Linked DNA regions of Homo sapiens: region 1 is linked to region 2. The links are contacts of gene promoters, found by promoter capture Hi-C in human tissues and cell types (Jung and others, 2019). All regions are on one chromosome and are shown on one strand. The core of a region is centred on a gene start or on the middle of the fragment in contact, and the rest is flanking DNA. Distances in the headings are between cores, read along the strand shown. Region 1 overlaps PAQR8 (progestin and adipoQ receptor family member 8). Region 2 holds the start of GSTA4 (glutathione S-transferase alpha 4).

Evidence for each region. The method cuts DNA at HindIII sites, captures the fragments that hold promoters and counts their contacts. A contact is called where the count stands out against the background at its distance.
Region 1: a fragment that was not itself captured here is called in contact with the fragment with the promoter of GSTA4 in region 2 in 1 of the 25 tissues and cell types used here (lymphoblastoid cells).

Annotation. Positions count from the first base shown.
Region 1 is chr6:52,398,736-52,401,772 of GRCh38, reverse strand. The region is part of intron 1 of PAQR8 (progestin and adipoQ receptor family member 8); the gene reads right to left. Among named protein-coding and RNA genes, the nearest start is that of EFHC1, 20 kb to the left of the region's middle. The HindIII fragment of the contact is 6,274 bases long and covers 1-3,037 here.
Region 2 is chr6:52,993,634-52,996,655 of GRCh38, reverse strand. GSTA4 (glutathione S-transferase alpha 4) reads left to right here and starts at 1,372. Exons shown (of 7, transcript NM_001512.4): 1 at 1,372-1,407; 2 at 2,395-2,499. The coding sequence starts at 2,413. It overlaps RN7SK (RNA component of 7SK nuclear ribonucleoprotein), which reads right to left and starts at 1,036; the gene lies at 705-1,036. RefSeq lists silencers at 799-888, 1,220-1,451 and an enhancer at 1,049-1,268. The HindIII fragment of the contact is 14,338 bases long and covers 1-3,022 here.

The DNA.
Region 1 (3,037 bases), core at 489-2,988, 600 kb after region 2:
TTGAAAATATGAGGTGAGCAACTGACTAAGCCTCATATTTAAGACAGGCAAATTGACTCGTCAGTTAGGTTGGTAAAGAACAATGCACATTCTAGGATATCCTAACAGTTAAAATTAACATGTGACCTAAATTTAACATAAAATCTCATTGCAAAGACTGTTGTTCATTTTTTAAATTATGCTCTGAAAAGCAAGTAGTTTTAGATTTGCTTCTCTTGGGTAATTAAAACTGCACTCGGTGAATTTCAGGCTTCAGAAATGCTTAACTTACACTTGTATTTCTCAGTGACAGACGAATACAGCAATTATTTCATAAAATATTTCATGAAACTGCTGCAAAATTTCATCTGAAGTTGCTAGGTAAAGAAATAGATTTTGATCATTTCTAGTTACCTTATGTAATTATGTTTCCCAAGCTTTTTTCTTCAGAAAAATTTAATATCTGATTTATCTAAATGGAGCACATACAGCAAGCACATACAGCAAGTACTGGAGCACATACAGCAAGTACTGTTCAAGGTGCTTACTAATTTTAGCAAAGAAAATGTAATTCCTACTCATACGTCTCAATCAATATTGGAAGAGAAAAAATACCTAATCAGGTAAAAAAGTGTAGGGCATGAAAATTAATAAAATGTAAAGAAGTTCAGGGAGACCTGGAGTCAAGCTCCAGTTTTGCCACTTACTGGGGTGACCTTGGGCAAGTTATAGAATTCTCTCAGCCTCAGTTTCTTCATAATTCTATATATTATATGGGTTGTGTGATAGTTAAATGAGAGGGTCTAAAAAATGAAGTGCTTAGCACTCTGCCCAGCCCAAGGTAAGTGCGTAGTAAATGTGAAATATTGCTGTCATTTTTATTGCTATGAGCTGGGCTCTGTGCTAGGTACTAGGTACTAGGGATACAAAGACTGGTAAGATACACTTCCTGCCTTCAAAGAGATCAAAGTTTACTGGGGAGACAGACATGTAGGGGAATCAACACAAAAATGTGCAATAAGTGCTCCATTAGAGACAAACACTGGTTCACAGAGGTCTCAGCAAACAACCAAAACAGGGAAAGGATGGGGGTATAGCCCTCTTGAAGTGACCCTGAACTGAATCTTGAAGGAAAAATCAGAATTCCTGAGAAAAGATAAAGGCGGAAGAGACTTCTAGGCAGAGAGCAAGGTCAAAGAACTTCTGCCAAGATATGGGCTTGGAAAGCCTGGAGTATCTGAAGTCATTGTAGTTTGCAGTTATGACATTGGTGCCAGAGAGACCTGAACTCACATCCTGAGCCCCACCATCAACAAGCTGCATGAATCCAGCCTGAGCTTTGTTATCTGTGGAGTAAATGACAGAGAAGCTGCCTTACAGGGCTGAAAAAGAACTATATGACATAATGGCTGTAAAGTGTTTAACAAAGTGCTTGGTTCCAAGTCTGCATAACTACTTGCCATTATTATGACCATCACTGATATGAGATGCAGGAATCATTCATGAGTTCAGGGCCTAATGTCCCCTCCATACCTTGAACCTATTTCTATGGCAGCCCCTGTAACCCTGTATTGAGGCATTCATTTAGCCAGCACCCATCAGACAGTGGTCTTCTACCAGGAATGGGCTATGAACTCAAGCTCAATGTAGGAATTAAAGACACCAAGAGAAGTGTATTAAGGATTACAGTCAGCCAGAAAGAGAAACACAGAAAGAGGGAGTGTGGGAGAGAGAAAGAAAATGCTAATTAGAATACCTGAATTCATTTGAAAACAAAAAGAAAAGAAAAAGCTAAGTGGTGCTTCTGCTATCAGCCAGCAGAGGGATCCGAGTGCCTTAGAGTTCAGTTCTGGATGGAAGTTTCTCCAACTGACCTTGGTGGACGAACTACAGGAATGGGCCTGGGATGTGGGATAACTTCTCAAGTTGCCCTGTTGCTGTTAGCAACATATAATCTGGGGGTGCTGGGCTTGTTGGAGTTCTGGGGAATTAAAGTGCTCTATTCTTTAGATATAGTCTTCTACTACCTCTTGTGAAGTAGAGAGCAAACCAGATGAAATTACCAGTCTGATTTTATGGCTGGGAGAAATCAAGGTGAGTCACTGGGTATAACCCCAGTGACTATAGAAGAAGGAATCCCCAAAGATGCTCCCAGTATCCCTGTCTGCATGCTGTCTAAAATCAAGGCTATTTCTCTCATCTTTGGGAACCCAAACCAATCAGACGATTCCTGCATCCAGAGTTAAATAATATATAACCACACAATTCCTACTAATCTTCATATCCTTAAAATAGCGTATCCATCACATAGCAGGTTCTTATAAACTGACAACTCAACTGAATTTCTAAAGACTAAAACTTTGGGTTTTAGTAGTTTAGCGATTGGAAGAGAGCACAATTCAGACCTGGGAACTAACTGGCATCTGTCTGTTCTGAGGGAGAAAGGACGGAACATGATACTGCCTTATTATTGGTCTGCAGAAGACCATGACTGCAGAGCTCTGACAGTTCCTTCTATTTCTCATATCACCAGCCTCCCTCATGACTTTATGTTGACAAGTTATTTTCTGGAAATTATTTCTACTTCACTCTTTCAGAAAATAAACTAGGAAGAGATTTATAGAACTAAGAAGCAGAGAGGTACAAGTCCAAAGGGATATTAACTTTAACTTCAAAAGAAAAGGTGCACAAGGGGAGAGAAATTGGCAGAATCATCATTTCCCTTACAAATGAGATCTTTAAAATGCAGCCACAGAGATCTCAGGGTCTTCTTAATAACTCCACCCCCTGGAGTGTGTAACCCAATAGCCACAAAGGAACCTGAGAGTCCAGGGATACAACCACCATAGGCTCTAACTCAGAATATGATTCCTTACCTCTCAGGAATGAGAGGGTTGCAAAGATCTGTCCTCTGAGGGTAAAAAGGGCTTAAATTTCCCAGCCAGGGACAGTGGCTCACGCCTGTAAATCCCAGCACTTTGGGAGGCTGAGGTGGGTGGACTGCTTGAGGTCAGGAGTTCGGGACCACCCTGACCAACATGCTGAAACACCATCTCTA
Region 2 (3,022 bases), core at 123-2,622:
ACTTGCCAGCCAAATTATTCTTTTAGCACCACCCCCAACTCCAAAGACCCCCTTCCAAACAGGTGCTGACTTGAGACCGTGACTATAGAGCACTTGTCTCTAAAATGTACAAAATGAAGAGAAATCTCAAGATGTCCCACTGAGATGAAGAAAGAAAGAAGAAAATATGTATGTTTGTATACATGTATACATGTATATATATGTATACACAAAATTAGAAAAGTTAGGGTCTACTGTATAAATTAAATAAGCGTTGACAGTGCTTTTGATTTTAATCTGTATGTGGTACTTTGCCTGCTTAACACCCTTATGTGGATTTCCTGACGGACTTGACATTCCTGTCAGGAAAGCATTGCGTACTTGCTGATTAAAAAGCATCTAAGGGCCGGGAGCGGTGGCTCACGCCTGCAATCCCAGCACGAGGCAGGAGGATCACCTGACGTCAGGAGTTCAAGACCACCCTGGTCAACATGGCGAAACCCCGTCTTTACTAAAAATAGAAAAATTAGCCGGGCATGGTGGCGCGCGCCTGTAATCCCAGCTACTCGGGAGGCTGAGTCAGGAGAATCGCTTGAACCCGGGAGGTGGAGGTTACAGTGAGCCGAGATCCGTCTCAAAAATAAAAAATAAATAATGAAAAAAATTAAAAATTTAAAAATTAAAAAACATTTAAAAAAGCATCTAACTTAGATGGGTAATGGGTCAAAAGAAAGGCAGACTGCCACATGCAGCGCCTCATTTGGATGTGTCTGGAGTCTTGGAAGCTTGACTACCCTACGTTCTCCTACAAATGGACCTTGAGAGCTTGTTTGGAGGTTCTAGCAGGGGAGCGCAGCTACTCGTATACCCTTGACCGAAGACCGGTCCTCCTCTATCGGGGATGGTCGTCCTCTTCGACCGAGCGCGCAGCTTCGGGAGGGACGCACATGGAGCGGTGAGGGAGGAAGGGGACACCCGCCTAGCCAGCCAGATCAGCCGAATCAACCCTGGCGATCAATGGGGTGACAGATGTCGCAGCCAGATCGCCCTCACATCCGAGGTACCCAAGCGGCGCACAAGCTATATAAACCTGAAGGAAGTCTCAACTTTACACTTAGGTCAAGTTGCTTATCGTACTAGAGCTTCAGCAGGAAATTTAACTAAAATCTAATTTAACCAGCATAGCAAATATCATTTATTCCCAAAATGCTAAAGTTTGAGATAAACGGACTTGATTTCCGGCTGTTTTGACACTATCCAGAATGCCTTGCAGATGGGTGGGGCATGCTAAATACTGCAGTCTCCATTGGTGAGGTCGTCCCGGAGCCTCGCCCAGCTCCCGCGCGCTAGAGCCGCCTGCTGGTCTCACCCAGCCGGGACCGCTGACCTGGCGCTTTGTGCGGCTCCAGGCCTCCGAGTGGACTCCAGGTCTGTCTCCCTCCTGCGGTCGCCCCCTTCCTCGCCCTTTCTCTCTTCTTTTTTTTCCCTCCCCTTTACTCTCTGAGTCTCACTCTCGCATTCTTCCCTCACTCCCCCAGTTCAGTCCTTCTCTTGTCTTTTCTTCCTCTTGTCCTTTGTCCTCCTGCTCCATCCAGTCTGGGCAGAGGTGGGCCCCTTGGCTGGAGCTGGGGTCCTTCTTGGCTCAGTGTGCGTATTTTTTTTTAAACCCCTTCTGCGGAGTCTGAATGCATTGGTGGAAGGTGGGCTCGGATCGTCCCCGGGCCTGGCTGGGCTGCCGCTACGCCCCTGCATGGGCTGAGCGGGGAAGACGAGCATGGGAGAGTGCGATCTCAGATGGCCAAGCCCTGGCCCCCGGCTCGTTTTACAAGGCCGGGGGCTCATCTCCCTGTAGGGGTGGTGGACACGCGGGACCCGGGGGGCGCAGCCACCGCATGCGTGACGGTGGACGCACATTTTGCAGACAGTAGTAGTACTCGGCCTGTTCACCTTCCAGTTGCCGTGATAATAAAATATGATGATGTATGTAAAAGCATGAATACTTGAAGAGCTTCCAGTGGCTGTGCGATTTTCCTTCGCTACCCTCTTCAACGCCTGCCACCCCCTATCCCCCAGCTGAATTTGGAAAATCTGAGATTCTCGAGGTCAAAATATATAATATTCTGAATTTGTGAAATCCCGTACTGCTAGCACATATGTTTTTACAACAAATGGCCCCAGCTTCCCAAGATCCAGGATAAGAAGTCATAAATAGAAATCATATAAAAGCCAAGGTTTTTTTCTCCATGTTTTAAAATGGTGGTTTTTTTTTCTTGAGTGAGGGAAAATGCAGCAACAAAAATAAAGAACAGTTTCCCGTGCCAAAATCCTGAATATTCATTTCGCCCCTGAGCACTGGGTTGAAGACGCGAAATTGGGACTGTTGGTCTGCGACGAGCTGCTGCATTTGTATTTCAGAAAGCCTGAAAAGCTATCATGGCAGCAAGGCCCAAGCTCCACTATCCCAACGGAAGAGGCCGGATGGAGTCCGTGAGATGGGTTTTAGCTGCCGCCGGAGTCGAGGTACCTTATATGCTGTTTCTTCACGGATTTGTCATACAGCTTTTGAGACCTTTGAAAGAAAAATACGTTTTGAAGCACCGTTCAGTTCTAGTTCTCGTCCACCAAAATCACAGGCACGCTTCACTGAGTCAGATACCATCCCTGAAGGGATTTTTCTTTATAATTAGAACGTAGTTGATGGAATTCTATTTTCCTTTTGACTTTTACTTAATTATTGGCTTCTGATCTAGCACCAGTGAATATTTATTAATAAGAAGAAAGGAAATTTACCTGAAAATTGTCAGTTACTCTGAGCTCTTATTAATTATGCATTCTCAGGGTAAATTTCTTGTTTTCTTCAGTGGCTTCAAACTGGCAGCCTTGGTATCTTGCTTACATATGTGTGTGTGTCTGTTTTTGTTTTCGTTCTGTTCTTTTAGCTTCTTAGTATGGAAATTTTCAAATACCAATAAATGTAGAGAGAACATTGCCATGAATTCTATGTACTCATCACCCGACTTCAGCAATCATCAGCTCTATGCTA